Linked DNA regions of Homo sapiens: region 2 is linked to region 1. Evidence: promoter capture Hi-C in 16 types of primary human blood cells and fetal thymus (Javierre and others, 2016). All regions are on one chromosome and are shown on one strand. The core of a region is centred on a gene start or on the middle of the fragment in contact, and the rest is flanking DNA. Distances in the headings are between cores, read along the strand shown. Region 1 holds the start of ST3GAL5 (ST3 beta-galactoside alpha-2,3-sialyltransferase 5). Region 2 holds the start of LOC105374843 (a long non-coding RNA gene).

The links. Contacts are between HindIII fragments. The CHiCAGO score rates a contact against its expected background, and 5 or more counts as called.
Region 2: a contact is called between a fragment that was not itself captured here and the fragment with the promoter of ST3GAL5 in region 1, in 3 of 17 cell types (M0 macrophages, megakaryocytes and total B cells). The highest score is 8.8, in M0 macrophages.

What each region holds. Positions count from the first base shown.
Region 1 is chr2:85,884,356-85,891,417 of GRCh38, reverse strand. It overlaps ST3GAL5 (ST3 beta-galactoside alpha-2,3-sialyltransferase 5), which reads left to right and starts at 2,428. Exons shown (of 7, transcript NM_003896.4): 1 at 2,428-2,594. The coding sequence starts at 2,513. It overlaps ST3GAL5-AS1 (ST3GAL5 antisense RNA 1), which reads right to left and starts at 2,138. Exons shown (of 3, transcript NR_110569.1): 1 at 1,615-2,138; 2 at 213-242. RefSeq lists silencers at 2,027-2,646, 2,687-2,806 and enhancers at 2,977-3,056, 2,748-3,248, 3,587-3,716, 3,727-3,846. The HindIII fragment of the contact is 797 bases long and covers 2,126-2,922 here.
Region 2 is chr2:85,995,513-86,002,574 of GRCh38, reverse strand. LOC105374843 (a long non-coding RNA gene) reads left to right here and starts at 4,497. Exons shown (of 3, transcript XR_940318.3): 1 at 4,497-4,604; 2 at 4,934-5,144. The HindIII fragment of the contact is 8,882 bases long and covers 1-7,062 here.

The DNA of each region.
Region 1 (7,062 bases), core at 1,179-3,678:
TTTGGGAGGCCCAGGCAGGAGGAACACTTGAGCCTAGGAGTTTGAGGCCAGCCTGGGCAACAGAGGGAGACTGCTGTCTCTACAAAAAATTAGAAATTAGCCTGGCATGGTGTTGGGTACCTGTAGTTCCAGCTACTTGGGAGGCTGAGGTAGGAGGATTGCTTGAGCCCAGGAGGTGGAGGTTGCAGTGAGCCAAGATCGTGCCACTGCACTCCAGCTTGGATGACAGAGTGAATCTGTCTCTAAAAAAGAAAAAAAAAAAAACGCTGCTGTCCTGGATTTGTAAGTAGCCTGAGTGACTCTTTGCTAGTCACTATTCAGAAGCTTCTCTGAGATCAGCCACTGACTTGGAGAGATAACAGTAAGGCTTTGAGATCTAGAGGCTGATCTTAGTCTGCTGTTTGGAGATCTCTGCCTTAATCCAGAATAATAGCTGAGGATGTCTCTGTGGCTGATGAAGAAAAGGAAGTTTGCAGGCCTGCTTGTCTTGCTGCCCAAGTGGGTCAACCTAATGTGAGTGGAGTGAATGAGGTAGTAAGGGCTTAACAGATGTCTTGTGATTCTGGGACAGGAGGCAGCTTCAAGTTCCTTTTCTTCCTCACCCCCACCTTACACCCATCCTTGGAAGCTGGGATACTGCTGACTCTCATGGCAGCCATAACGCTATCAGCGCCTGGCTTTGCCGACAAGGGGAATCTGGAAGAGAAGGGGAAGGACAGGGGAGACAAAGAGAGGTAAAGAGTGTTGCATCAAGCACATGTGTCAGAAGTGTTCAAACCAGAGCGCCTCCATTTTGAGTGAGGGCTAGAAAAATGAGGCTGGGACTTGCTAGGCTGCATTTCCTGAAAGCTAGGCATTCCTAGCCTCTAGGTGTTTATGGTTAAGAGAACAAATTAATAATGCTTACTAAACAGACCCAGACTTGAGAGAGTCCAGATATCCCGATATCTGGAGAACAAAGGCATTCCTAATTTTGCTTTAAAAATAATAATATTGATTATTGCAAAATATAGTAATTAGGGAAAATTAATCCTTTATCACAAACCCTTGTAGCAGAAGACATCTGCCCATATATACAAGCATTACAAGCATTGTACCTTAGTTGGATATGTCCCTCCTCTTATTTTCAGGAATGCCCTGCTGGAGTGCAGTGGCGATCTCGGCTCACTGTAGCCTCTGCCTCCCGGGTTCAAGCGATTCTCCTGCCTCAGCCCCGTGAGTAGCTGAGACAACAGGCTTGCGCCACCACGCCCGGCCAATATTTGTATTTCTAGTAGAGACGGGGTTTTGCCATGTTGGCCAGCTGGTCTTGAACTCCTGACATCAGGTGATCTGTCCGTCTCAGCCTCCCAAAGTGCTGGGATTACGCGTGAGCCACTGTGCCCAGCCACCACTTTACTTTCTTAATAAACTTGCTTTTACTTTGCACTGTGGACTTACTCTGAATTGTTTCTTGCGTGAGATCGAAGAACCCTCTCTTGGGGTCTAGATCGGGACCCCTTTCCTGTAACACATGGGCCTTGGGCTGATCTCCAAGATTAAGAGGGCAAGATACTCAGCTGCAAGGGTCAGCTGTCGCTGACCCCAGCAGCTGCTCTGCCTTGGCCAACTTACCGGATTTAAATCGCCCAGTGACAGCTTTTCCTCCAGTATTTTCAAAATGCTCCCAATATCCTCACGTTAGAACAATCCAGAAATAGTCTTATGGTAAAACTCTTTTGGGAAATGTGAAAGTAGAGTCCTCCCACCTTTTCCTTTGCAACGCTTTTGCCCCAACCTCGATCGCCCAGGCAGCACATTTTTTCCGGCACCCCCACCAAGGGAAGAACAGAGACATCTCCAAACCAGCTGCCCTGCGCCAAGCTGTTACAAAATAGAGCCACAAGTCTCCCGGTTTATGCAAACATATTTGGCTCGGTGTCTAGGATCTTCTTTTTCAAACTCAGAAGGAGATCACAGGCACACGGCCGCGGTGCTGTGTACGCCCCTCTGAAAGGAAGTTCTGCAAGTCGACCGACTTCACTGGCTTCACTGAAGTCCGGTCCGAAACCACCGGAAAGTTGCAGGCGCACAGTATACGTTCAGCTGTGTCCAAGAAATAACCTATCAATCACTGCCTTAAGCTTTGTTTCCTTCCTGAATTTTCTTATTTTCACGAATATTTATGCTTTCACAAACTGTATGTCATTTCCTCTCCAGAACCAAGGGGGGCTCGCCCCAGCCTGGCCCCCGCCCCGGGTGCGTCCCTGCAGGGGGCGCCCTGCTCTGGCAATGCCCACCGCACCGCAGGGCTGACTGGCCGCGCGCCCGGGGGCGGGGGCCGCCGCGGAGGCATCGTGCTCTCCGATTGGCCGTCCGCGTCCTCGTGACGTCAGACCCCGCCCACGCGCCCCTCCTCCGCATCTGAGCGGGGGAGCGGCGGCCCCCAGCTGAATGGGCGCGAGAGCGGCGCTGGGGGCGGGTGGGGGCGCGGGGTACCGGGCTGGCGGCCGGCCGGCGCCCCCTCATTAGTATGCGGACGAAGGCGGCGGGCTGCGCGGAGCGGCGTCCCCTGCAGCCGCGGACCGAGGCAGCGGCGGCACCTGCCGGCCGAGGTACGTGGCGCAGCCCCCTCCTCGGCGTCGCGGGGGCCCGCGGGCTGGGGGCTGCGGCGGCGACTTGTCTCTTCCCGGGCCGGCTGGGCGCGGCGTTTCCGCCTCGAACCCCGCGGGCAGCGCCCAGGGCACGACACCCTCAGGCGAGCCCGGCTGGGGCGCGGGCGGAGGGTCGTGGTCCCGGGCCGTGTGGACCGGGCGGGGGGTCCCACGCAGGTGTGTACGCGGTAGAGGGTGGGGCGGACCGCCGGGTGTCGGGTCCCGCCGCAGTGGCCCTTTCCCCGCCGCTTTCCGCTGCAGCTCGGGATTTAATTCATTGCTGGAAGCTTCGGAGTTAGCAGAGCCGAGTTAACTCGTTTTCCTGGGATGGGCTTAGGGAACCCCCTGCAAGGTTACTAGCAGCTCCTGAAACCTCTCTCTGCATCCATCGGGGAGGCGTGATGTGGGGCCGCTGGTAGAAATTTGCCGGTGACCTTCCCTGCACCCTCTCTGCAGCCAGCCTTGCGGAGAAGACAGGTTTTGGCGACCTTTTGATTTCTTCTGAATTGTAAGCCGTGGCTTGACGCGGGTGTGCATTCATTGTACGCCTTGCGTGTGTAAGTAACGCAGGGTTTTCCGAGAGCATCCCCGAGGAGCCCTGCCCTTGCCTCACACCCGCTTGGTGACCTTGGCAGACACTGATCCCCCTGTGGGGCTCGGGCTCATGGTCTCTCCTGAGAAGCTTACCCTGCCGATGGCCGAGGTCCCTTCCAGGCCCCGGGTTTTTCTAATCATAAAAAAATACGTTTACGAGGGTAGAGGATCCTGCAGAATCTCTAGCTGACTCGGAAGACGAATTTTATATCCTCATGTCTTAAGTCATGCATGCGGCTTTTGCTTAATTAGGCATCGTTCATTTGAAGGGGAAAATGGTTTTATGTGCTGCGCTTCATCTGGCACCAGTGGTTGCCTGCTCCTCGTGGCAGGGCCGTGCTGGGTGTCACAGAGAGGAAGGAGACTCATCTCCTGCCCTCTGGTGTTTAGCTGCCCTCCCCCGGGCTTATGGCTGCTAATCCTTTTCCACGGAAGGATACAGCTGCTGAAACTGTGGAAGAGGAATCCATTTCTGCTGCATGAAGGGGCACAGACTTGAATACAGTCAGGACAGGTTGTGGTTTCACTTGTGTAATCCTGAGAGCTTGACAGCTTCGAGGAGTGTCTAACATTGCTAGTAACAGAGCCTAGAAGCACCTGAATTCCAGCTGTCACTTGGAGAAGGAGAGATTCATACGAACTGCGAGAGCATATAACCAGCATGTCTTGAGTCTTTTACCCATGTGCCTGTTATATGGATGCTGCTGTTTTTGTAAGATGAAATGACCCTTGGATATTCTGGGTTATGATCAGCATTTCTTCGTCTAGGCGAGAAAAGAAACAGGTGAGATAGGAAGGCATGAAGGGGCTCATGGAAGAGAGAGGGCTGACAGGCAGAAATTTTGAGAGCTCACATTTACGACTATTTGGACAGTTCTTATAATTTTGGCATAAATTGTAAATTGTTGCATGTTATCAAAATAGATTGGTGATGAACGTTAAGGATATATCCGTGGCAGAATAAGAACACACTCTTTGTTCTTTGGTTTGCTCCTCTAGTTCTTCCCTGCTTGCCTTGTGGGACTATTTGCAGCAATGAGGGGAATTTATCTAGCAGGTTGGCCTCGGGAGGCAATGAATGAAAAGAGGTTGGTGAGTCCTCTGTGGGAGTCCATTCCAGGTCCTGGAGGGCTGAGGTGGGTGTCTTGGAGCCAGCAGTTTCTGGGAGAAGGGATAAAGCTCACCTTCCACACCCTCCTGGCTCCTGAGGAGCGATTTAATCCGCACTGCCTGTGGACACGATGGAGGACTGAGATCACTCCCGAAGGGCATGCTCCGTGGTTTTAGTCTGCTGGGAAGCTCTGGCAGAAGTAAAACAACTGGGAATATACACATGTTAATGATGCTCCAAGCTGCCTAACTGCTGAGGAAGGAAAAGCAAGGGCTGGATCAGTGTGGGTGGCATAAGTTAGCAAAGGCATCCAAAGTGGGGTGAATCACAGGCCTGGTGTGGGAGGAAACCATAAATATGACGGTGACACGCAGGCTCGCCCGGGAGACAGCCAGCTTAAGCACACGTGCAGAGGAGAAGCAAGTGAAATGCGTAAGGGAGCAGGAGAAAAATCAGCTTTGAGGCTTCAAGGACACTACCAGGCTTGTCTTACCTGGACACCAGACAGACAAAACTTTTTTTTCCTCTTTTTTTTTTAAGTATAGCATAGATACTAGGAAAGTAGACATACCATAAGTGTCCTGCTCAATGAATTTTCCAGACTGAACATGCCCATGCACTCAGCACTTAGATCAACAAACAGAACTGGCCGGGACCCTGGGAGCTCCCCTTGTGTTGTACTCCAGTCGCGGCCTCCCCCAGGATCAGCCTTGAACTCCTGGAGTCAAGCAATCCTCCTGCCTTAGCCTCCTCAGTAGCTGAGACTACGGGCACACACCACCAGACCCAGCTAATTTGTTTTATTTTATTTTGTAGAGACGGCTCCCACTGTGTTGTCCAGGCTGGTCTCTGGCAACTCCTAGCCTCAAACTATTCTCCCACATTGCCCTCCCAAAGCGCTGAGATTACAGGCGTGAGCAATTGCGCCTGGCTGGCTAGTGTATGCCTTCTTTCCTTAAGCATTGAGTTTCTGAGAATCACTCATGATGCTGCCCATGGTTGAAGCATGTTCACTCTCATTGGTGATAGGGGCCATTGGGTGAATATACCACATAGTCACGCATTGTTAGTGGACATTTGGGCAGTTTGCAGCATTTGTCTGTTACAGAAAGTGCCGCTGTGACCACTCTAGTGTCTGGCTTTGGTACATATGTGTCTGCATTTCTGATAGGTCCATACCTAGGCATGGTATTGCTGTTTTAGGAGCCACAGGCACAGCTATTTTACTCCAGTTTTTTTTTTCTTTTTTTTTTTTTTGAGACAGAGTCTCGCCGTCGCCCAGGCTGGAGTGCAGTGGCACGATCTCAGTTCACTGCAGGCTCCGCCTCCGGGGTTCACGCCATTCTGCCTCAGCTTCCCGAGTAGCTGGGACTACAGGCGCCTGCCACCTCGCCCGGCTAATTTTTTGTATTTTTAGTAGAGACAGGGTTTCACTGTGTTAGCCAGGATGGTCTCGATTTCCTGACCTCGTGATCCGCCCACCTCGGCCTCCCAAAGTGCTGGGATTACAGGCGTGAGCCACCGCGCCCGACCTTATTCCAGTTTTGAAATGATCACACTGGTAGTTCCTCACTGTTCGCTGATGAGGGCCACAGTTCTAAGGAGACTGGGGAAGGAATCAGGAGTCCTTCTGGCAGTCAGGATCAGTTTCTACCTGGCTGTGTATGGTGCCAGCAAGTGTGGTCACCTATAGGCCCCAGTCTCCCAGTGGGTCAGGCAGCAGGGCAAGGTGAGCTGTGAGGAACCCTTAGCTCCCCAAGAGCCTCTGACCTAAGGGAAGTGTTTCTCTGGTGAAACTGCCTGGCTTGGTCTCAACTCCCACCCTTGTTGCTGCAAACAAACCACTCCTCTCTGAGCTCTCATAATACTGCACTTCCTATACTTTATGTCTACTTCTGTGGCCTGCTTTCTCTGCATTTCTGCTAAAAATTATCCGTGACCTAGAGGAAAAGCCCATTTCTTATTTGGGTTTTTGAGGCCATGTAAGACATTTTTGTTGTCCCGTTATTACAGCATGGAAAAATGTTCAGGATTAAGTTATTGGATGGTTCACCAAGTCCTGTACCCATGAATTCTTTCCTTTTTTCCTTCAATTTTTAACATCTGGGATTATAACAGTTAAGTATCATGTGATAGGATAGGATCAGTTTGATAAAAATAACAGATTAGAAAGGTCTGCTTTGGTGGAATAGTACTTCTGTCTTTTGACTGTTAAGGCTGTTTTTAAGACCATCTCTTTTTCATAATTCAGAGCTTATGTGTATTGAGTTCTGAGCAGGGGCAGTTTTTCTGTTACACGTGTCGTTTCTTCCTCAGCCTTCCTCTCTCCTCCTCAGCCTCTGTGTTTTTATCCTCTTCTGCCCTGTTCTTCACCCCCTTTTTGCTTTTCATAAACATCTTATTCTCATCTCTAATCTATACTCTAGCAGAAAAGAGTAGGACAAGTATGGCCTCTGATACTCTCCTCTCTTTGCTTGTCACTTTCTGCAGTCCAGTTGTTGTCACCCAGGACTTAGGGACTGATGTGGGCTTCTTGCTCATCCTTCGTCTAGATCACCACTGTCCAGTGGAAACATAACCTGAGCCACTTGTCCAATTTTATATTTTCTAGTAACTACATTTTAAAAATTGAAAAGAAACAGGTAGATCAAAGTTTCAATTTCCCAAAAAGTTTCCATTTCTAAACTCTTATGCACCTAATAACACAGCTGCACACTATGTAAA
Region 2 (7,062 bases), core at 1,841-4,340, 110 kb before region 1:
TAACACCTCTTTGTTTCCAAAGTCATTGCCATTATTTACTTTGAAAGGTTCTTCTCTCTTTAGCCTGCCCTTTGGAGGGACTGATAATGCTGCCCAGGCGTGGCTTCATTTATTGTCTGTGAGTGTTCATCCAAGAATTACCTGGTACCTTGATTCATTCATCATGGGGTGTCCTTCCACTCACATTTCATTGGCCAAAGCAGATTACATGATAGCATCTAACTTCAAAGAAGGCAAGAAAATACAACCTTACTATGGGGATGAGAGGAGGAAAAACTGATTATCTATGCACCACTGTAATGACTATCACAGCTTTTATGAGAGGATTCCTATGTGCTTTGTGGAAACCAATGCATTTCACCTAAAATTCTTCAAATCTATATCTATAGTAAATCTCTAACAGATCAGCTTGTTGACTCTGCGAGAAAAGAAAATGAGATTAATTTGACATGATATATTCTTAGAAAATATATTGGCTTCCAATGATTTGTATTTTTTCTTTTAACTTAAAAATATTCCAATTTAAATTCTTCTTATTTCTAATTTATATTCTATGTAGTCACAACCTAATGTTTAATGAACCATTCTAGAATTTTCCCAGGGAGAGACAGAAATCTACAAGTTTATGGTTTCTTAACGCATGTGTAATTAATTGCTGCAAAAAATTAATTGCATTATATTCACTGTTAAAATGTTGTAAAGGCCTTTGTTATGGAGGACTCTGTTGCTATGGTCAAAGCAATTGCAACTCAAGATTGAATGAGCAAAAGTATTATGAATCCTCAAAGCTCTGTGTGTGTATGTGTGTGTGTGTGTGTGTGTGTGTAGCCAAAGATAGTTGAAACCAACTGATGCTTAACCTCAAAAGCAGCAAAGACTTGGACTTTCTATATGGGCAAAAGGAGGCCTGGGGTCCCACAGCATTCACAAGGCCAGGTCAGGACTCCCCATCTGAAGATAGGCAGATTGTGCTGTGAAGGCACCTCCTGGGTGAAGTTCTTCCTGATACTTGCTTAAGGTCCCCTGTCTTACCCTTTGATCCAAGCACTCAGATGACACAACCTGGGGCCCCAGATTTTTCTGTCAAGAGAGAGTGACCGGCACCATCACATGATGAAGCCAGAGGACAAAACCAGGTAATGGAGAGGCCTGAAGAGAAGGTGACACTGCCTGGAGCCACAGGGTCTCCCCTTAGCTCCTTTGGGATGAAGTTGGCTATGCATCTGTGCAGTGAGGTGCACAGAGGGTCCTCTGTGTGTCCCTGAATGATATCCAAACAGGACAGTGCAGAGGCTGCAACTGGTGTATGAATATGGTTCTCTTTCCATCAGCTCTTCCTCCTTAATCTCTGAGCACTCCCACTTCAGAATGGCAGGGGTTAACCGTGAGGAGTCACCTCCATCTGAGTGGGCAGGGAAGGCCTTAGCTGGGATGTGGGATTTGGACGGCATGTTGAAGAACAGATGGAGAGAGTGGGAGCAGGGGTTGGAAGGTCAGTGAGGAAGATCTGATTTGTCAGGTGTGGGAAGTTCCTGAAATAGGAGGTAGACCAGAAAGTTGAGGACTGCTGCAGAAGCCTTGAATGTCAGGCTGAAGTGTTCAGACACTTCAGCAGGAAGCCATAAAATGCTTTGATCTGGGTCTTGACATGTATAGACCTGGGTCAAACCAAGACAAACTTGACAGAGGGCTGTGGAACAGACAGGGAAAAAGAGACCAGAGACAGGGTCACAGGCTATTGTAGTAGTCAAAGCCAAAAGCAAGATATCCATGAGCCAAACTGCCAAAGGAAAGGAAAAGACAGGGATTCCGGTGACTAATCCTATGAATTTGAGAGTGAAAAATACCTAGAAGTTGACAATTTAAAAATATTTTCTGTCCACACCCTGTATGATGCTGAAATTTTAGGCATCTGTGTGCCCAGAAAAAGAGAGAGCCCTGACCAAATTGATAGCGTATTTCTGCCTCTTCCCAGTGGTCACATTCTCCCGGGAAAATGAAGTTTTTTACAAAAGAAGTAACTCCACCCAGTGCACGTGCATTCTTTTTCACTCTAGCAGAATAACGGGTATCTGCTCAGTTCTATCTTATTGCTAATGTTTATCTCAAACCTAGAGCTCTTCATCCACTTCCTATGGGAGCCGGAGTGGGAGGTGGGGCAAAGAGACAAAGCTGACTTCCCCTTGATCTTATTGCATCAGTCAGAGTCCCAGCAGGAGAGAGATGGCAATTCAAAGTTACAGCTCAGTCACTGGAGAGAATACAGTGAGCAGACATGGGCAAGATGGAAAAAAATGAACAAGGATGGTGCAGCACCTCTGGGATAGTAACAGTGGGGAGCCATCACCACCCTAAGCGTGAAGGACCAAGGCGGGAACGTGGCATCAAGAATGCAGAGAGATAGCACTTTGGGAGGCCGAGGTGGGTGGGTTGAAGTCAGGAGTTTAAGACCAGCCTGGTCAACATGGCGAAATCCCATCTCTACTAAAAATACAAAAATTAGCTGGATGTGGTGGCACACGCCTGTAATCCCAGCTACTCGGGAGGCAGAGGCAGGATAATCACTTGAACCTGGGAGGCGGAGGTTGCACTGAACTGAGATAGTGCCATTGCATTCCAGCCTGGGCAACAGAGTGAGACTTCGTCTCAAAAAAAAAAAACAAAAAACAAAAAACAAACAAGCAAAAAAACCAATAACAACAAAAGAACGCAGACAGAGCTATAGCCAAAGGAGGGGCTTGCTGGAAAGTGTGCCATGGCCTTCAGTAGAGGAACCAGACACTTCACCACCAAGCCACCCCCCATGGCAAAGAGGGAGAACAGTAAGTGCCAGGATGGCTCTTTCCTCCTGCCCTCCTATTCCCTGCTGCTGGCCACGATGGGCTGAACTCAACCAGAACCCAGAAGGTGCGGGAGCTCAGTTGACGTGGTTCCTACAGGCCAGTCCCAGGATCAGGGCAAGGTGGAGAAGAAAGGAGAGCGAGTGGGTCTGGAGGGACAAACGAAATCTTCAGCATGCTAATATTGATGTGCAAAACCAAGCAGCACAACAGAAACCTGCTGTCTTTCACTGAGCTCTAACCATGGACCCAGCGTGAGGAAATGATGTCAGGCCAAGGCTGGGGCTCTGAGTAAATGGTTTGTACAGACAGGAGCCTACCACTGAGGCCCTGAGGGAAGCAAATACCCGAGAACAGGCAGAGACAGAGGGAGAGAAACTGCAAATCCCTTTCCTAATTCCTGATTCCAATTCTCTGAGAGGTTTTGCAGCCTGTTTCCATGAGAGTACCCTGATTTCAGAAAAAAAAAAAAATTTCCGTTTTACACAAGGCAGAAATAGAAACTTCCTCAAGTTTCTAGTATACCCAAAGTTTCAAGTTTCAAGTATACCCAACATTCTTTGGTTATAAGAAATAGAAACTTCCTCAAGTTTCATAGAAACTTATAACCAAAGAATTTTGGGTGTACTTCATCTAAAACAAGAACCTCAAACATGCTTAATTTCATCTAACCCATAACCCTGTCTCCTTCCCCATGTTAAAGAAGAGGGGATTCAGGATCTGAGTAAGATAAGGTGAACCTTATCCTGGGAGGCGGGACTCACACTCGGGTCTACCCGACTGCAGCACTGTGGAATTTTCTAGGACTCCACAGGCAGGCAAAGCTGGCCAAAAGCAACTTCCAAAGCCAGGAGGGAACTCCACCCCCAACCAAAACCACTCAGTGAGGAAACTGGTGTCTCCATCTGTTTTTGAGCGAAAACACCCTGGAGTTCTGAGGAGCTCGCAGGCGCGGCCACCCAGCACCTAAGTGTGGGACAGGGAGCAAGAAAGGGACTGACCTTGGACCTGTGAAACCGCAACCCAGTTTCCCCAAGGGCTCCTAGGAAAGCAGTGTATTTGAAAGTGCTGTCATTCCTTTGCTAAATGCCAAGGATGGAGTGGGCTGTGCATGGGTGCGCCTCTTCCCCACACAGCCACTGCTCCCAGCCCCAGTGAGAGCCTGAGCTCTTGGAGTGAGGAGGGACCCCTGGCCCCCCTTGGTGGGCTCTCCGGCCTCCCTCTCTCGTCCCCACCCCCAGGCCCACACCCTGTCGGCCTCCCACCTCAGAGTGGAAGGTGAGGTGAGGTAATGTCTCCGCTAACCCGCAGTGGCAAGGAGATGAAAAGAATCTCAGAAATGCTATGTTTAATTTAAAGCAGACCCAGCCTGCCTTAGCCAGGCTGTAATTTCACTCAGAATAACCAGATTGTTTTTCTTGGACATTCCAGGCCACCCCCTGTTAAAGCCCAAATGGAATGTTAGGGGGCCCCTTACTGGGGGCCACATGGCTGTCCGAAACTCATTCTCCCTTGGGCCAAGGACTCCTGCTTTGGGGAAGGTCAGGACCTCTCTGAGCGTCACTTAAGGGCCTCCCCTTGGCTCCCTGGCACTCCTCCCCACCCGGCACCCCACCCCTAACTTGGTGCCCAGAGTTCTAAGGGTAAAAGGTCGTCATAGATGAGAACAGCAACACCATCTGTTCACTCTGTGTTCTCTGTGCCCAGTGTTGTGTGAAACTTTCTATCCAATATCTTGCAAAATCCTTACAGCAACCCTATAAGGTGGGTAGAATTTTTTGTGATTCTCCTTCTACAGAGGGTGATAGGGAGGCTGCATAACCTGTCCCAGGTGGCCCAGTTGGGATTTGAGCTCGCTTAGCTCTGGGTGCAAAGCCCAGGCTCTCTGGGCTGCCCATCCCAACGGCCCCTCCCTCCTGGGGCTGAGGAGTTCGGGGGACATTTGTTTCAAGGGAGCTGCCCTTGTTGGCCATCTGGGTATCTGTGGAGGGAGTCGTTATGGGGACACCTGGGTGACAGACAGCTGAAGGGAGGAGGTGCTGTAATCCTGAGCCCTTCTTCTTTCTAGTTGCTGACACCCCTACTTTGGGTAGGGTTGGGTCGGGGCCTTCCAATCTCTATAGGTTTTACTGCTTCCAAAGACCTGGCATACTCCTGGTTTGTGATGATCAAGTTCTGGGTCAGAGCAGGGAGAAGCAGCCCATGAGGCCGGTGAAATGGTGCCCAATGGAGGGGAAGGCCCTGGCTTGTGATCTTGGGCAAGTCCCTCCTCATACCCAGCTTCAGCTTCTCCTCTATAAAATGGTAAGTGGGGATGGAATGGCAGAGAGATGCGGGGCTCTGATTTCTCAGGCCTCTTCTGGCCCTGACATTCTCTGACTTTATTCTGCCAGGATCTGTGCAGATGGGCCTTGGCCCAAGGAGACATGGGAGGTAGAAGGAAGGGAGGGACTGGCAGGGGAGGGACTTCTGGGGAAGTTTCCAGGACTTGGGGGAGGAGAAAAGAATGAGTGGAGCCTGAAGCCAGAACCAGGCATGGGGTGGCCCAGATGGATTTATTCCAGAGCCTGGCCTTCTTCCTGCAGGCCTGAGGGACACTGTGGCTGGCTCAGGGCATAAGTATGCCCCAAACAGAGGGAGGGGCCTCTCTCTGCCTGGTGCCCCCTCCACTCTCAAGGCTCAGCACAACTAAAAAATGGGCTAAAAAATGAGCACTAAAAAAATTTTTAGTGCAACTAAAAAATGAGCTCTCTTGCCTCACTACTGGGGCTGCCTTTGATTTCATGGGGAATAAGGAAGGGGCCAAGGAGTACAGGATCCCAGGTGGTGGATTCTGTGACTGATGAGACCCCTCCAGCTCCCCAGGCCTGGCCGGCAAGAGGAAAGCTCATGTTGCTGATGGGGTGGAAGCCAGGATCTGCAGGCCTGGGAAGGGGCTGATAAGGGGCTGCTCTCACTGCTCAGGGGACAATGAGCTTAGTGTGGGAGGGCTGGGCTGTTGCTTTCCCTCAGGGCTCCCAAGAGAGGTTTCCATGGCACCCAGAAGCTGACTTGGCCACAAGTGTCAATGAAGACATTGTGTGGGGGTTCTTGAGCCCCACCTCTCTCATGGGGTGGGGAGGAGGGGGTGCGAGGCAGGGGAGCCGTCCCTCTAGTCCTGCAGATGCCCCTGTGTACTGTGCTATGAGATGGGACTGGGGCCTCCAAAGATACCCACCTCCTTCCTCTTCTTCAGGAAAGGGTGGAGCTGTTGGGGGCCTTCCCAGGGCAGACACTATATGAGATCCCGAATCCAGGCATGCGTTCCTCAGGAGCTGCTCACCTGGGAGAGGGAGGCAGACAGGTGACACATGCCCTCTTTGTACCTTTTTCCCACACTGAAGCCAACAGGTTGTGTCCCTCCTCTACCAATTCACCTGTAGGAATGACAAGACTCAGCCGGGGTGACAGAGTGAGACCTTGTCTCTAAATTTATTAATTAATTTAGCTTGGAGACTCTTGCATGCCTCACCTAAACACTGGTCAATCCATGGGTTGGCCAGTGCCCCTTGACCTGGGTAGCTTGGGTCAGACAAGTGAGTGGGGTCATGACACTCTCTCTCTCAGGAATGTGGCCTCCAAGACTCAGAGGGAAATTGCCTCTCGTGGAGACACCGGTTCCACTTGGACTAGGCATGGTGCTACCCAGACTCCTCCAGGACTGAAGGGCCTGCACCCCAGTGGTTGTCCCTCAGCTAAGCCCTCTTTGGGAGCAATTCAGCCCAAATCCAATGACTGGTCAATATAAAGGCATAAAGGCCAGGTACTCTTGTCCCAACTCAGGGCAGCTGTCAGCGTCCAGCCCAGCTCCAGCGCTCCTCCAGGGCTTGGCCAAGGTCTTTGTTGGGACTGTATCACAGCCCAGTTTCTCCCACCGCCACTCCCTCCTTCTCCTTGTGTGTCCTGACTCCAGGGCACACAATAAACTGTCTGCCCACCTATGTCCATCTTAGAGTGTTTCCCAAGGAACAGGAAAGATGCCACAGGGAGGGCAGGAAAGAGGATGCGTAATTAGGCCTCTCACAGGTCTGCCCCTTCTGTCCCAGCTGACTCCTGCCTCTTCTGCAGGGGGTGGGGTGGAAGCAGTGCCTCCACCCCCACCTCTGACCTTCCTGCCTGTCTGTCCTAGAGAACGTTTGCCTGGCTCTCAGGGTCTCCAAAGGAAGAAGTCAAATAAGTCACA